Regions from separate parts of the Homo sapiens genome. Here regions 2, 3, 4 and 5 are each linked to region 1. Evidence: promoter capture Hi-C in 16 types of primary human blood cells and fetal thymus (Javierre and others, 2016). All regions are on one chromosome and are shown on one strand. The core of a region is centred on a gene start or on the middle of the fragment in contact, and the rest is flanking DNA. Distances in the headings are between cores, read along the strand shown. Region 1 holds the start of NLGN1 (neuroligin 1). Region 2 has its middle 38 kb from the start of LINC01209. Region 3 has its middle 110 kb from the start of TBL1XR1-AS1. Region 4 has its middle 92 kb from the start of TBL1XR1-AS1. Region 5 overlaps LOC105374235 (a long non-coding RNA gene).

Evidence for each region. The method cuts DNA at HindIII sites, captures the fragments that hold promoters and counts their contacts. A CHiCAGO score of 5 or more calls a contact.
Region 2: a fragment that was not itself captured here is called in contact with the fragment with the promoter of NLGN1 in region 1 in 1 of 17 cell types (M0 macrophages); the score reaches 6.0 in M0 macrophages.
Region 3: a contact is called between a fragment that was not itself captured here and the fragment with the promoter of NLGN1 in region 1, in 3 of 17 cell types (M0 macrophages, M2 macrophages and M1 macrophages). The highest score is 15.9, in M0 macrophages.
Region 4: a contact is called between a fragment that was not itself captured here and the fragment with the promoter of NLGN1 in region 1, in 2 of 17 cell types (M0 macrophages and M1 macrophages). The highest score is 9.3, in M0 macrophages.
Region 5: a fragment that was not itself captured here is called in contact with the fragment with the promoter of NLGN1 in region 1 in 1 of 17 cell types (M0 macrophages); the score reaches 7.8 in M0 macrophages.

What each region holds. Positions count from the first base shown.
Region 1 is chr3:173,396,346-173,399,630 of GRCh38, reverse strand. It overlaps NLGN1 (neuroligin 1), which reads right to left and starts at 1,887. Exons shown (of 7, transcript NM_001365925.2): 1 at 1,568-1,887. RefSeq lists an enhancer at 3,119-3,285. The HindIII fragment of the contact is 3,156 bases long and covers 275-3,285 here.
Region 2 is chr3:176,853,079-176,856,457 of GRCh38, reverse strand. No RefSeq gene overlaps it. Among named protein-coding and RNA genes, the nearest start is that of LINC01209, 38 kb to the right of the region's middle. The HindIII fragment of the contact is 733 bases long and covers 1,152-1,884 here.
Region 3 is chr3:176,927,021-176,930,409 of GRCh38, reverse strand. No RefSeq gene overlaps it. Among named protein-coding and RNA genes, the nearest start is that of TBL1XR1-AS1, 110 kb to the left of the region's middle. The HindIII fragment of the contact is 1,295 bases long and covers 873-2,167 here.
Region 4 is chr3:176,943,674-176,947,117 of GRCh38, reverse strand. No RefSeq gene overlaps it. Among named protein-coding and RNA genes, the nearest start is that of TBL1XR1-AS1, 92 kb to the left of the region's middle. The HindIII fragment of the contact is 6,479 bases long and covers 1-3,444 here.
Region 5 is chr3:178,372,485-178,375,758 of GRCh38, reverse strand. The region is part of intron 1 of LOC105374235 (a long non-coding RNA gene); the gene reads left to right. Among named protein-coding and RNA genes, the nearest start is that of LINC01014, 45 kb to the left of the region's middle. The HindIII fragment of the contact is 1,517 bases long and covers 787-2,303 here.

The DNA of each region.
Region 1 (3,285 bases), core at 638-3,137:
AAGAAAGTCATCCAGGAATGCATAGGGTCATCAGGCCTTCCAACACCCTGCAAATGAAACCAATGGAGTTCTCAGCCTACCTTCTTTAAGTGTATATTTCACCTTCAACTTCAAAGCCATTCAAACATTTACATTTGAAAATATGTTATTACTAAATGTAAGTGGAAAATTTCACAAAATAAAACTATACTGAGGGAATAAAGAAAAGATTGACAGCAAGTACTTTGGGGGTGGAAGAAGGGAGACAATGGGAAGGACGGGAACTAAAGAAGCTTTTCTTACTCCACACTACTGGAACTCTAGTAGAATCTGCTGAAAGATTGACTCCCTCAATTTCTGCTTATGTTAAGAGGATTGGGAAGACTAACTGCAGAATAGCAGGCTTACAGAAAACAGTTACTTCTTTTAATCAAACCATGTAATCAGAAGGCCTGAGTAATGATTAACTTCCACTTTCTCTGTGAATCACTCAATCACTCTGCAGTGCAAGTAGACTTAGATTCATTCTCTGCCAAAGGCACAGTAAATTTAATGTTTTTGCATTTAACATTTAATATTTTAAATATATGAATGGCCCTTGCTTCTGAGCTCATTTCAAAAACCTTGTGTTCTGCTAGGTTACAATGGCTGATAGAAATGCTGAGACATTTTATAGGTTTTACACTCAAACATAGGTACACATACCCTTTCTCAGTGACATTTTAATATCTATGATCCTATTAATAATTGAGCACAATTAATGGTGAGAAATGCATTAAGACCCTGTAATTTTCATGTACAGCATGACAACTCAATTGACTTAAGCAAAAATAGTCTACCGGAGTTTGAGTATAAAAAGAGGGAAAATGAGTATATTAACTACCTGTAAAAATGCAGAGTAACAGATACTGGGTTAACTATACGAATTCACGTTTCCCAAGTGTTATATGTATCACTATGGCCCTGGAAATGCAAAAAGAAATAGTACCTTTGTGGAGGCCAACTGTTCATGATTTAGAATTATCACAAATGAATCAAATATTGGACATGTAATATCCCTCATCTCTATAACACACTAACAACCTCCTCTGGAAGAAATTATTCCCAATGCAAAATCTCAACCTAAATAATTTTAAATTCAGGTGGTTTTTCATTTCTACTCACAAGGCATTGTGTTGAGGCGGGCAGGAGTCGGTGGAGAACGGTTTAAATGTTTGGAATACCTTCTCTTCCCAGGAGAGTTTATTGCCCAATAATGCATAATATATTAGTTGCTCAACGCGGGGGATCTAGGGAGTGACATCTTGACTGGAAACACACAGATCTGAAAACCACCTCTCAGGAAACGTTGTGGGGAAGAAGAGCAACTTTCTTATCCCTGTCAAACTAACCGGCGGAACCAACCCCAGAACTAGCCGGAGGGCCTGGGGAGAGCAGAAGGCTGAAAGCAGCTCCTCTGCGCTCCGCCGAGGGTTCAGGCAAGGGTTTTCTTCTGGAGGCGGCATTGTTCCTCCATCTGCTCAGCCTCCGTATTTCGCCAGGAAACCCTCCCCGCTTTCTCGTAATCTGTTCCTTATTTCTTTTGTACCTCTCAGCCGATTTCCATGCTCTTGGTCTCTGTGGTCCCAGGGCACAGCTCTAGGGTGAAGAGCTGCAGTGACTGGGGCGCCGCTCTAAGGCTTTGGAGGCGACTGCACTCCGCCCGGGCTCTGGCAGCGTGAGCGCCGCACAGTCGCTCGCTCCCTTCTCTCCGGTCTCTCCGGCTCGGACGGGCTCTCCCGGCCTCTCATCACCCACTCCGACTCGCCTTTCCTGCCGTGTCTCCCCACGCCAGCTCCGCGCGCTCGGCGCTGGCCGCCCGGGCGCGCTCTCCGCGCCGCCGCCTGATCCTCGGCTTACAGCCGCGGCGCTCCCCCGCCCGCCCACAGGCCGGGACTCCGAATTGAAGGGTCAACCCTCCGCGGGGAGGCGGGGAGGAGCGGCGAGGAGAGCTGGGGCAAGTGGGGAGCCGCGGGTGGGGGGACTGACGGGGGAACGGGAGAGTGAGGCCAAGAAGAAAGAAGATGCATCTGCTCCGAAGACGCCAATGAAGAAAGGACAGAGGGGGCAGGAGTGGAGTGGGGGAGAGAACGCCCACCAGGAGGGTGGGCAAAACGGGCAATTTACAAACTGCCGGGGCTGGAGATGCCGCGCGGAGGAGGAAAGAGGTTAGCGGCACAGAAGAAGAAATGAGGGGAAGTTCCCACATCTCCCCAAAAGGTCACGTTTGAAAACCGTGTCCCTTGAACGGGAGTTAAACAAGCGACTGGCCATGGTGTAAAAGGTGGATTTAAAAGGAAATTTAGTGTCATGTACTTATTTAGACACGGCTTCGTCTCGCTCAACTCTGGCAAATTACCCTCCAAGTAAAATGTATTGGTTTTATGCAGAAACGGAAGGCGAATCTCCTCCACTGTGGACTCCTCCTGAGATTGGTTTGTTTGCTGGTTATCTTTCTTTTTAAATGAAAAAAAGCGTTTGGGAGCTTCCATGAACCCCAACGCTTAAAAAAAACCACCCAGTTTATTAAAGTTCATTATTTTTTATTGCTTTTATTTTCATCAGAGGATAGGGTGAGGGACTGGCATCTTCAGATGTTTAAAACACTTATTTAGGTAGCATTATTTTTTATAAAGGACACGATTTCCTAAAACCGCCAGAAAGGCTATTGGAAAACTCAGCTACTAGCCTGGGAAAGAGAGACGCATTTAAACTCAAATAGACGATTATACCTCCAGCACCCCCCACCCCCACCCCAATGGGATTGGAAAAGGGTTGAGTTTACAGAAGAGAGAGAGCAGAGAAGGGTGGGTGGAAGGTGGGGAAGGCGAAGGAGAGGCAGGGAATAGGAAGTTCTCGGCAATCCCCGGGATTAAGGTAAACGCCGGAGCTCGGCGGACGCAGGAAGCTCCCTTACCTTTCTCTCTAAGCCCCGTTTGCACCTGATCTGCAACCATAAATACTTCGTGGTGCTTAGTGTGCAGCCAAACGATGGCCAAATGTTAAACAATTCTTCACGCTCCCTCCCCCTTTTAAAAAACAGGCTCAAAAGAATGTTAATAGTGTTCTTGTTATCCATCGGCTCCAAAACATTCCGTTTCGTGGGGAGGAGAGACGAAAACCAGGCCCTTGGGCACGCGTATATGTATTTATATATTATGCGGTCGGTATATAAACATATATACGTTTCCTGCATGTAAATCCAAAATGAAAAGCACCACAGATGCTTCTGTAAACGGGAGGGGACAGCGAAGAGCAAAACTTGGC
Region 2 (3,379 bases), core at 269-2,768, 3.5 Mb before region 1:
AGAGCAAACAGAGAAAAGAGGAAAAAGGAAGTGGCTGAGAAAGTGTTTTGTAGATGTACTTTTTTTTTGTAATTAATATTACTTAAAAAGATTAGAGTATGTTTGAACTGACGAGGACTGAAGTCATTAAGTACCAAGCTTTGAAGAGAAGATGGCAGAGATAGAGGAAAGGGGACATATGTTTGGCTTCCTTCAAGGCAGTATTCAAAGAAGCCTGTAGGCAGTGAGTTACAGGAGTTTAAGAAATATTTCCTAAGGGAAACTATGAAGGTCTTTATTTCCTATAAAAATCTACAATGTGTACACTTCTGAGCCTGCAAGATGTTTGTCTTCCTGCCAGAGGCTCTGACCAATTATGTGAGCTGTCAATTCTCTTCCTAGGTCACCTCAGTAGATGTTTACCTGTCACCTATGAGCTGCCAGGCCTCAGGCCTGTGTCAACATCATCTAGATAAGAGACTGCATCAAGATGAATAAGAATTTTTCCTTCCCTTAAAAAGTTGATGTTCCTACAAAGGAGGACACATAGAGGCTCAAGGCTTTCTAAACTCTAACCGGTTAGAGATGATGAGTGATTTCTAGTCAGAAGGGAAGAAATAAAGACTAAAGGGAGAACAAAAGAAAGTTTTAATAAAGAGTGAAAGATAAATACTACTAGCAAGTGGAAGATTCTGACACTGGAGAAAGCAGGGAATATTACTTTAGCTTGAGTTATACTATGTGTATGGGACCCTTCCCAGAAAAGGGGAATTTGGATCTTATGAAGAAATGGTAGCAGCTCATATTCCACAGATCAAGTGGCACAATTACTAAGTCCTAGTTTATATAGATAAGCCTGTTACAAGGTCAAGGAAGGAGATGCTTAATGTTGTTTTGTATCTTCTTTTTCAGGCTACAGAGTTAGCTGTACGGAGTTAGTTTTAGGTAGATTTAGTATAGTAAATTGGATGGTGTTCTGTTTTCCTAGAACAGGTATGTGAGAACTGACCGAGTTGTCACAAATCTATCAAATCACACTGATCATTATCTCATTTTGTTGATTCATGAGAGGTTGACTGTGTTTATCAGAGAAGATTCGTGGTAACAATGGTATAGAAGTCTTATAAGAAACGGAATAACTTGGGTAAACTTATTGCCTTAGGATGAAAGCTTAGATACATATTAAAATTACATTTGCTTACTTGAATCCACCCATTAGAGGGTGGGGAAATTGTCTCTTTTTACTATTCTAATCCTTACCAGACCACATTGTACAAAGTGTTTTCTCAACAGATGTCTGTTGAAAAAATACATGAACGAGGAAAATGTTGATGTTCAGTGGATGTTGCATTTGAAATAGAATTTAGATTTTTGAGCTATAACTTAAGACCCCAGAATGATAGGATTTTGGCTAGGGTAGGAACACAGTTCAAAATTATTTGAGTGAAATTTAAACTGAATATACAGGGGAAGAAGATAAGTAATGAAATACACTGATGTAGAGCATGATTTTGCAGAATGCAAATAGTAGGAGGGAATGTAGGAGATGCTTATGATTTACATGGAAAATCAGTAATGGTACCAAAAGCCAAAATTATAGCCTCCAACACATATACCACTGTAGAACATTAGAAATTAACAAGATATTGAGCGATTTTAATTTATGGCAAGAGGTTTGTATACATTCACAGTTATCATTGAGATTAATTGAGATGTGATTCAAAATTAAAAGATGGTGATGGAATCTCTTTAAAGAGGGCAGACATTTTTGAAAATCAATTAGAGAAATAGTTATATTTATGTATCAAGGGGCCATAAACTAGTGTAGAAACTCATGATGTGAGATTATAGCTGAGGAAAATAGAAATAGAAATCTGAAATTGTTGGGAGAGTGTTCTCCAAGCTTTCTGGCCAGAAGGAAGAAAGAGATGATATACTTTTGACAGAGATCTGAAAGATGACCCTATGCCAGGCCAAAGTCATGATTGAGGGATTTCAATTAAGACATCTCCTAGAATCTCAACCTGCAAAAAATTTGAGTGTGTGTAAGCTCATGACATTCTTTGATAAGCTGTTAACAATCTCCTGAAAGATAGGCCATTAGGGAAACAGTTCCTTTTGGTCTGACTCCGAAATATAGGATACATTTATTGGCAAAGTGAGAGGAACAGAAGCTTTGGGGAAAGTCACTATAATATTTTAGAATTCATCATATTCATTGAGGGGAAGCCTGCTATGGTTGACCATGTGCTACAGACTTCAAGAGGGTCAGTGTAGAAAATATCAAGGAAAACATAGGCATGATTTCATGGCATTCTACATTAAAGGGAAGATGTCAACAGCTTTGGGAAGTTGTTCGAAATGCCATTTTGATTCTGTATACTGTAAACCATTTATCTCATAAAAATTAGGGGGAAATTTTGCTGGCACAGTGGTGCACACCCAGCTACTCAGGAGGCTGATGTGGGAGTATCCATCCCCTGAGGCCAGCTTAAGCAACATAGCAAGAACCTGTCTCTTAAAAAATAAAAATTAGTGGGAATTGTGAACTCAGAGTTTTGAGAGATATGTGATTTAAAAAGTACAAATTAATGATAAAAAATCCTAGAGTGGTCCACATGTGTAAGAATAATGTCCATAAAGTTGAAGGGTACTCAAGTTTGTGAAAAGTGCCACTGACAATAAAATGGGATTTCTTCATTATATTCAGAACAAGAAACAGATCGAGGAAGAGGCAGAGTAACAACAGCCGGGAAGAAGATACAGTTTTGTAAGTGACCCTGTAAATTTCCTTGTATCATCTTTGTTAAAATTGATCTTCATATTAAAAAGAGTGGGGCAAACATTGAAATGAAGGATGCAAACTCAAAACAAAAAAGATGAGGGAGCATTAGCAGTTCAGATTTCAAATCTTATGAATGACATCTTAGGTTACTCAGAAATTTCAAATGAATTAATTGAATGGCTATTTGTTATTGCAGAGAAATTGTGGAGACTGGGCAAGATGTGGGGGACAAAAGTCAAGCAATTATCAAAAAATTTTGTAAGAGAAGGGTGATGTCTGCAAACAAAATGCCCAATTCTGTCAATACTTAGCCATAATTATTGTTCATCAATGGGAAACTCTCCTCCCCTTTTTGTTAGTAATTTTAACACAATCTCAGTTATGTAATTTTACCCCTACATATGTCAGTATTCATATAAAAAATAAAAAGAATATTTTCATACATAACCACAATACCAGCAAAAGTGACTTATTAAACAGATTTGTGATTTACCAAAAGTGGAAAATGATGATTGAAACATGGAAAGGATTGACATACATTCATACTATAGTTACCTCATTTCTATCTTGGGTAGGATTTCTGGACTTATTAAGGAAATGCAGGCAAAATGATAT
Region 3 (3,389 bases), core at 271-2,770, 3.5 Mb before region 1:
TAACAGCTCAACTTAGTAGGGACGTTTGTTCTTCCCCTGCTCCAGAGGACTAAACTCGAGGCACTCTCTCTGAAAGTTTGAGTCTACTTGGAGTGAATACAAATGAATTTAAAACTATTCTGAAAGTTTACTGGGCTTAAGATCATGCTTAAGCTCACTTCTTTCCTTTAGCTACATTGGGGATTCCTTCAATCTAGAAACCTCTGTCTCCTGGAGCTGATTCTTTTTTTGTGTGTGTGTGAGACAAGGTCTCACTCTATCGCCCAGTCTGGAGTGCAGTGGCATGATTTTGGCTCACTGCAACCTCCGCCTCCTGGGTTCAAGCAATTCTCATGCTGCAGCCTCCCAAGTAGCTGGGATTACAGGCGTGCACCACCATGGCCGGCTAATTTTTTTATTTTTAGTGGAGATGGGGTTTTGCTCTGTTGGCCAGGCTAGTCTCGAACTCCTGGCCTCAGGTGATCTGCCTGTCTTGGCCTCCCAAAGTGCTGGGATTACAGGTGTGAGCCACCGTGCCTGGCTGAGCTGACTCTTCTTGGTATCACCCCTCCTGGGTCCTGACCAACTCTCTTTCTCCAGAGATCCAGATTCTCTGAAGTTAATTAATAGCCCCTTCTATCACTATGAGAGGGAGGATAATACAACTATGAATGATGGCTTCAGCCTTCTAATGGGCAGGTGGCTAGTGTGTAATCTGCTGGTGGATTAGATTCATTGGAGATTTCAACAGGGAGGTTGTAGGATTGTAGGGCAGCCCTTATAATATCCATCAGCTCCCTATTCTTTGGTATGTGATATCTGCTGCAATGATAGCTTCAAGTTCAAAGCAGACTACCACCTTTAAGACCCTCTTATCTAAACATACTGAAGCTTCCCCTGCTGGGTGTCTGGAGAGGAATGGTGTTCAGTCTTTGGGTAGATACATATTGCATAGGGAAAGTAAATACGGTGCAAGTGAGCGTGGCTTGATGGGAATTAAGCTCCAAATAATAGAGCAGAGCAGAACAGTGGCAGCGGTCAAGGATATACTTGATGAAAGCTACAAATGTAACAAGCAACATCTGCAGTATGGAGAGGAGGAAAGATGGCAGCTGGTAAGGATTTGCAACTAGGGCAGCAAAGCCCAGACAGGGAGTAAATTCAGAGGGAAGCCCCCAAATTTTCAGTGATGTACGAAAAACAGCTAAAAGCAAAGTAGAGATAATGGCCTAGATATCACTGCTTGGAAAGGATTTATTTTCTGTTTGAGAGAGAATAGTGGTCAAAACTAAAATCACATTTGTTTGCTTTATTTAACTGAAGGATTCTATTTACTAGTATAGTCAATGCAGTTTATAATTTAGCAATGAAACACAATAAGTTTTTCTTAAAGAAATCTTTTTGGGTTCTATATTTTGAGTAAAAACCATAGCTAGCTACTGTGAATTATATCAGATTTACTTGAATCTGAGCAATTACTCTTTAGTTATTGGACCAGTGTCTAGCCTGGGAAGGACTTCCCTTGATCTTGTGTCCCTGGTTCCCTTCCCCCTTGAAGACAGGAAAGAAGGTCTTGAAAATGTAGTAAAACACCACCAGAGAGTTGGATTATTTTCCAATATTGAACATGGAAAACTGCAAGTTGCTGTTTAGACAAGATAGTATTCTATTTGCTTGAGTTGGGGCAGAGAAATTTGCTGGAGGTGTGTTTGTTTAATGTAGCTATTGGAATCTTTGGCTTATACTACTTAATTTCATAGCTGGGAATGTGGTATTTCCAGTAATTTGCAAGAATATGTCAGCTAAGCATTGCCAGATCTTATGGCAGGGATGAAATTTACGTGTATGATCAGAGTATTCCACCTGAAACACTTAACCCATTAGGACTAGAATATTTTTTCTTTTTTTTTTTTTTTGAGACATAGTCTCACTCTGTTGCCCAGGCTGGAGTGCAGTGATGCAATCTTGGCTTACTGCAAGTTCCGCCTCTTGGGTTCATGCCATTCTCCTGCGTTAGGACTAGAATACTAAATAACCAGTTTAAATATGCTTTGTTGGCTATCAGTTTATTTTATAAACTGCTTTAAAACTTCATGTGAAATATATATATTTAAAGACACAACATGCTAAAGAAATAAGTGGTAGGAAAACCCAAATGCAATCTAAGACTTCTGTTTACAGATAAGCTTTAGCAAAAATATTTATTTTTTCCCCTCCTATTTACATTCTGTGCTCTACTTAAGTACTCAAAATATTCATGAGTTTGGAACAGTGGGTGCCTGTTATACAGTTTTTTTATGAAGTGCATTTGTTATGCAAATTGTTATAGTGAACCATCCTTCATGAGCTATTTATGTTCATTTTAATAGAAGAAGTACCCTGTCTCATTCCATATAAATTCCTCTTTACAATCTATCAAATGCAGAAAGATGCTTGAGATTAAATAAATTTGTTACTAATATTAGTGAATATCTGATGCTTGAAATATTTAAGAGACTTTTTGGACATTTTTAATTACACTCCTCTAATTGCTCTGGGAATTGGCAAAGAGGATGAATGATAGGTAGTGCTTCAGGCAGTTGTCTCCATGGTCCCTTGTTCCACTCATAAGGATGACTTATTTTATAAGGAGATACAGGTCAGTAAGCAGAAAGGAGAAGCATTAAAAAGGAGGTGGCTCTCTAAGAGACAGTGATGCAAGCATTCGTTTCTCTATTCATTTAATGTTTTAAACTTTGCTAGAGACACAAAGTAGACATGGTTCCTACCTTCAAAATGCTGACCGTCTAGTCAGGGAGTTAGGTGTGTGATAGCATGCATTCTTCTTGCTATCTCCCCTTAACTTTAGCTGTTTGTACAGAAAATATGTTCTTTGCCCCCATAGATTCTCCATGCCTGCCAAGAGCCTTTGGTCATGTCAGGCCAGTGCCCAGCTCTTTGGTCATCCAGATACATGAAAAGGGCAGAGGGTGAAACTGTGGGGCGTGACAGGAAAGGGGAATTCCCTGAGTTACAGGAACTAAACAGATGTATTTGATTAAATGTTGGGAGAGAACAGAGGAGAGAGTGGGCATGAGGTAAAGCTAAGATGGTGAAGAGTTTCGTTTGTGTTTGTGGTGGGTGGTGCAGAGTATTTTAAAAGGGGCTTCAGAGAAGCCAGAGAGAGAGGCTATGAGAGAAATGCGGAGGAGAAAGAAACGGAATTGAGAAGTGGTGCCCTTTCTTATAAGTTAGATTCCCTTTTAACGCTGTTAGAAGAGTACAAGTAAAGTGTAGAGTTCCATTTTAGTTTTTTTGTTTTTCTTTTTTTTTGTTTTTGGTTGCTGGACTCTGATTTTATGTATTTGATTGGGCCATGTAGTACCCTGGCTTTGCTTAGGGTTATATCCAAAATTTCATTTATGTGGGGC
Region 4 (3,444 bases), core at 848-3,347, 3.5 Mb before region 1:
TGTAGAGATGGGGGTCTCACCATGTTGTCCAGGCTGGTCTCGGTGTCCTGGGCTCGAGTGATCAGCATGCATCAGCCTCCTAAAGTGCTGGGATTACAGGCATGAGCCACCACACCTGGCCTATCATTTTCACTGTCATAATTCTGATAAGTAGATAATCTACTTTGTGAAAGTACCTCCTTCCCCAACCCCTCTGTTGGATCGATAAAGCTATTGTCGTTTGCATGAAAAAAGGTGTAGCCTTGCCATAAACATTTTGTTTTGCTAAGTAGGCCCTCATGGATAAACGGATGTGTAGCCTGACTTTCAGGCTCACTGGGATGTTTTGAAAAGCCACTACATTTCAAAGATGCAGAGTAGTGTGGTGAACAAAGGTATGTGTGGTTTTTGAAGTTGCAGGGAACTGTGTTTTAGTCACAGATTTACTACTAGTAGTACCATTACTACTACTACTACTACTAATTATTATTATTTACCTTGGGCAAAGTGAGTTGAGGGTAACGTGTAGATTATAACACCTGTTTCCTAGAGTTACTGTGAAGATTATATGAAATATTGCCGCTAAAGTGCTGGCACTTGGTAGGTCACGTGTTGAATTGCCGTTAAGGGAACGCTGCTGAAACTCCCTTTACTTGTGAGATTTAAAAAAACTGGCTGAAATCAGTTGGAAGCCATATGGCCAGCCCGAGTCTGTACAGAATGAGCTTGCTGACGTCACAGCCCGAATTTCCACCATGTTTCATACTAATTCCCCCTGAATTTGCACATGTGTTCCACGAGGTAGCATGAAGAGATAACTGTGCATGCCCGAGGACTTTCTAGACCTCTCCTTTCCTTCCACCATCACCTAGTAATCTCAGAACCCATCCCCTGAAACTTTTCTAATGAAATGACTGCCTTAGAGCCAGCAAGGAGAGACAGATTTGAACTGCACTCTTGTCTCCTTGTTGGTTGACCTACAATAAAAACTTTTATTTTCTCAAAAACCCAGTACCGTAGTATTCATTTCTAGTGCATCAGGCAGCAAGCCCCTTTTGCTCGGTAATAACAGGTACTTGCAGCTATCACACCATCAAGCATCACCATCAACATTGTCCACCATCCAATCAATCTTGTCTTCTCAGTCCCATGAGCAAATTAAATCAATTCCTGAATCACTCCTTCCTCATTCTGTTTCATCTTTTAAACCAGCAGTCCCCAAACTTTTGGGCACCAGGGACTGGCTTCATGGAAGACAATTTTTTCCATGGATGGGGGGTGGGTTGTGGGGAAGGGATGGTTTTGGAATGAAACTGTTCCCCCTGAGATCATCAGGCATTAGTTAGATTCTCATAAGGAGCGGGCAACCAAAATCCCTCGCATGTGCAGTTCACAGTAGGGTTCGCGCACCTGTGAGAATCTAATGCCACTGCTGGTCCGACAGGTGTTGGAGCTCAGGTGGTAAGGCTGGCTGGCTCACCTGCTGCTCCTCTCCTGCTGTGTGGCCCGGTTCCTAACAGGCCAGTTCCTAACAGGGCCTGGGCCTGCTGTACAGGGGTTTGGGGATCCCTGTTCTAAGCCACACATGTTCTTCTAGCTATAGAAGAACCTCACCCTTACTGCAGGAATACGCCTCTGTTCCACTTTATGGTTGCTTAGCAACTGTGCTGTTTCTTTCTTTCTTTTCTTTTCTTTTGAGATGGAGTCTCGCTCTGTCACCTGGGCTGGAATGCAGTGGAGTGATCTCGGCTCACTGCAGCCTCCACCTCCCAGGTTCAAGCAATTCTCCTGCCTCAGCTTCCCTAACAGCTGGGAGTACAGGCGTGTGCCATCACATCCAACTAATTTTTGTATTTTTAGTAGAGACGGGGTTTCGTCATGTTGACCAGGCTGGTCTCGAAGTCTTGATCTCAGGTGATCCCCTACCCTCTGCCTCCCAGTGTTGGGATTACAGGCGTGAACCACCCAGCCCAGCTGTTTCTTTTTTTTAAAGCTCTGGGAAGTCTTTTATTTTATTTTATTATTTCAATAATTTTGGGGGGGAACATTATATTATTCTTTTTGTTGGTTTGTTTTTTGTTTTGAGACAGAGTCTCATTCTGTCACACCCAGGCTGGAGGGCAGTGGTGCAATCTGCTGCCTTCACCTCCCAGGTTCAAGAGATTTTCATGCCTCAGCCTCCCAAGTAGCTGGGATTACAGGTGTTCATCACCATGTCTGGCTACTTTTTGTATTTTTAGTAGACAGGGTTTCACAATGTTTTCCAGGCTGGTCTCAAACTCCTGGCCTCAAGTGATCCTCCCCACTAAGCCTCCCAAAGTGCTGGGATTACAGGCATGAGCCACCACACCAGCTGAGAGTCCATTATATCATTCTTATGCCTTTGCATGCTTATAGCTTAGCTCCCACTTATAAGTGAGGACATACAATGTTTGGCTTTCCATTTCTGAGTTACTTAGCACAATGGTCTCCAACTCCATCCAGGTTGCTGTGAATGCCATTGTTTCATTCCTTTTTATGGTTGGGTAGTATTCCATGGCATATATATACCACATTTTCTTTATCCACTCATTGATTGATGGGCATTTAGGCTGCTTCCATATTTTTGCAATTGTGAATTGTGCTGCTATAAACATGCGTGTGCAAGTGTCTTTTTCATACAATGACTTCTTTTCCTCTGGGTAGATACCCAGCAGTGGGGTTGCTGGATCAAATTGTAGTTCTACTTTTAGTTCTTTAAGGAATCTCCATACTGTTTTCCATAGTGGTTGTACAAGTTTACATCACTACCAGCAGTGTCCAAGTGCTCCCTTTTCACCACATCCATGCCAATGTCTATTATTTTTTGATTATGGCCATTTTTGTAGGAGTAAGGTTACGGTATCATATTGTGGTTTTGATTTGCATTTCCCTGATAATCAGTAATGTTGTGCATTTTTTCATAAGTTTGTTGTCCATTTGTATATATTCTTTGAAGAATTGTCTATTCATGTCCTTAGCCCATTTTTTGATGGGATTATTTGTTTTATTTTTCTTGTTTATTTGTTTGAGTTCCTTGTAGATTTTGGATATTAGTTTTTTGTCAGATAGATGGTTTGCAAATATTTTCTCCCACTCCGTGAGTTGTCTGTTTACTCTGCTGTTTATTTCTTTTGCTGTGCAAAAACTTTTTAGTTTAATTAAGTTCCATCTATTTATCTTTGTTTTTTTGTGTTTGCTTTTGGGTTCTTGCTCATGAAGTCTTTGCCTAAGCCAATGTCCAGAAGATTTTTTTCCAATGTTATCTTCTAGGATGTCTATAGTCTTAGGTCTTAGATTTAAGTCTTTGACCCATCTTGAGTTGACTTTTGTATGAGGTGAGAGATGAGGATCCAGTTTCATTCCTCTACATGTGGCTTGCCAATTATCACAGCTGCTGCCCTATTTTCCGACTTTTTCTTATATCTGCCTTTTCTCCCCAGTGAA
Region 5 (3,274 bases), core at 296-2,795, 5.0 Mb before region 1:
AGGTCAAAGATGTGATGAGGGCAACAGATGTTTGTGAGGAGTCTTCTTACATGAGGAGATGGACAAAGTCGTAGTTCTATTGGGAAAGGAGAAGTCATACACCAAGCGCTCCAGGGACAAGATACCAACCTTGTTGCTGAGAGCATTTTTGCCAGTCCTGCCAAGGGCCCCTAGTCTGTTGTTTTTACAGAACTGTCTGTGTATTGGTGATGTGTACTCAGGAGCATCATATAGTTCAGCTATATGATGGTCAGATCTAGAAGAGGGGCTATAATGTCGCCAGCATTAGGGCCCCTGTGGAGAATATATGTACCAAATGGGAAAGAATGGCACAAAAGGAGGATTTGTTCCTCCTTTCATGTCATTCTTTTTCATTTTGTATGCAGTTTCTGAGAGTCCACACTGTAACAATGAATCTCATGACGAAAGATGTTCTGGGGCTATACAGTGTAAGCACTGTGGGAAGATAGGTGCTGGCTCTCTGTAATATGCAGCACCAGGATTTGCACAACCTCACATTGTCATCACTATTGTACAGTAAACGGATAAATCCTCAAATTAGGATTTTATTAGAGTATAAATATGCCCTGGGAGGAAATCATAGCCTCGTGGAATGCTTGGGGTGAGTGCTGCTCATATCACACTGTCTATGGAATCAGAAAAGTTACCTTAACTGCCCCAAAGTGGCAATCTTTTGAATATACAAAATGAGGTGAATTTAAATTACCATACCACCCAATCCATCTAAATTAGAATCTGAAATTGGTAATGCGTCTCCCTTAAGCTTCTAATTAATTTCCATAATGTAGTTTACTCATAACACATTCTAAACAGCCAGGTATAATCTGTCTCATCCAATTTCCTTGGGGTTTTAAACATTCTATGTAAAAATATGAAATACTTATCGGTTTCCCTGGGCTTACCTTTCAATTTTCCTACTATTTATGTATTCAGAAAGTTTGATGAAGTCAGGTATAAGAGTGACACAAGACAGAGTTAAATCCAATTTCTCTCTATTCCACACAAACTGGTAGATATGGCAGCACCCAGCTAAGTGGATAGGAATTCTAGGTGATGTTCTTTTCATTAAGCAGTTATGGCTCGCTAGCATGTCTTGTCTTTTAAGGTGTATGTATTAGGCTATTCTTGCATTGCTATAAAGAAATAAAGGGATACCTGAGACTGGGTAAATTATAAAGAAAAGCATTTTAATTGGCTCAAGCCTCTGCAGGCTGTGAAAGCATGGAGCCAGCATCGGCTTGGCTTCTGAGGCAGGCCTCAGAGAGCTTTTACTCACTGTGGAAGGCAAGTAGGAACAGGCATGTCACATGGTGAGAGCAGGAGAAAGAGAGAGAACACAGGAAAGTATTACACTCTTTTAAACAACCAGATCCTGCAAGAACTCACTCATTATTGTGAGGACAACATCAAGCCATGAGAGATCTGCCTCCATGACCCCAAAACACCTCCCACGGGCCCCACCTCCAACACTGGGTACCACATTTCAACATGAAGTTTGGGGGGACAAATATCCAAACCATATCAGTGGGGTTAGAAACACATACTGATGTCTTTAAACTAGATCCTGAAGTAAGTGTTTCACCCAACCCACATGCTTGTTAGTGTGAACTCTAGTTCCATGGACTGTAGCCATAATTGTTTGGCACGTGATCATCTAGTAGAGCATGTGAATCAGAAGGATATGAAGAAAGCATGGACCATAACAGCCTCACCATCTTTGGCTGAATATTCACTGTGTGTAAGGCACTGTCCTAGCCATAGCATATCTTAGTACCATTCACAACAACTCCAAGAGGCAGGTAGTTCAGTTATTTTTATTTTATGTATGAGAACTATGAGGCTAGTTTGTTTAAATAATTTTCCCAAGGACAAGTTGCAAGATGGATAGAGAGCACAAATAATCTGATTGTATACCCATGTCCTTGGCCATCATCTGTTTTTCAGTTGTTTTTTAGTTTGTTTTAGCTTTTGTTTTTGTTTTTTGCCTCCAGCCTTTAGACATTTCATTGTTTGATCTGTTTGTCTAATAATCTGGCTACACCTCTGTCTGTCTCATCTAGACTCTTAGAGAAAAGAAACCTAGCTATTAGTAAACTGGTCATCCACGATTTCCTGGTGCAAAGAGTCTACTCAAGCATTAATCAAAAGCCGGGTAAAACAAAGCTAAACAGAACAAAAATATCAGACTGAAGTCTTATCCTTGAACCATTGATCAAAGAAGACACATTTTGTGCTTTCGTATATTTTCTTTTATCCTGAAGTTTCTTCTTCCAGGAGAAGCTTCCTGAAGAGATGTACAGATATGCAATTTAGAAAGAAGAGTAAAACATACAGTTTTCTAGGAAGAGAGCATATTTTTAGGAAAGGCTTCTCAGTTTGATATATGAAAGTCAGTTTGGATCTTGATGAATTATGCTCAACATAATTTGCAATTAAGATACTTGAAAATAATCAACTTAAATAAATCTTGTATATGAAGCAATATAATATAGTGATCAAAATCATGGAGTCTAGCAGCCCGAATTCAAATCCCAGATATGCCACTATTTGTGTGGCCTTGAGCAATTCATTTAAACTGTATAAGACCTTGTTTCCTCCTGTATAAAATGAAAATCATCATATTTCTACTTCAAAAGGCATTGAGGAATTAAACCACATGTTTAAAGTTCGTAGCAGAGTTCCCATGTAATAATGAACAATCAATAAATAATGGCCATTATTATATGGAACTTTAAGATATCTGGGGTAATGATAAATCATAGGGTCATAATTATATAGGTATTAATTATAGCCATGAGTTTGGGTTATTTCTTTAGGGCTTATCATATAGTAAAAGAAACAGAGTGGTAAGGGTAAACCAGTTGGGGTGGGAAGATGAGAAGTAAACAGCCCATGAGGAAGATAAGAGGTGACTGGAGAAAGGAAAACTAGAAGCTTAGGAAAGAGAGACTTTACAGAAAAAGGAGATTAACAGCACCAAAGGAAGTCCAGCAGTCTAGTAAGATGAGAAAAAAAAATAGTCCATTGATTTTTGGCAGTTATGTATGTTATGATAACTTGAAAACTGTGGGTAGAAATGATATTCTGAGTGTGGATGACAAGTGAAGTTATGACACTTGAGAAGGAGGAGGGTTGGCAGCTAAAGGGGCCAAAGGAAAGGTTTTGTTATTGTTGTTGTTGTTACTGTTAGTTTTGTTTTTCAGGTGGGAAAAATGCATGTGCTGAATGGCAAAGGGCCAGTACTAGTAAGAGA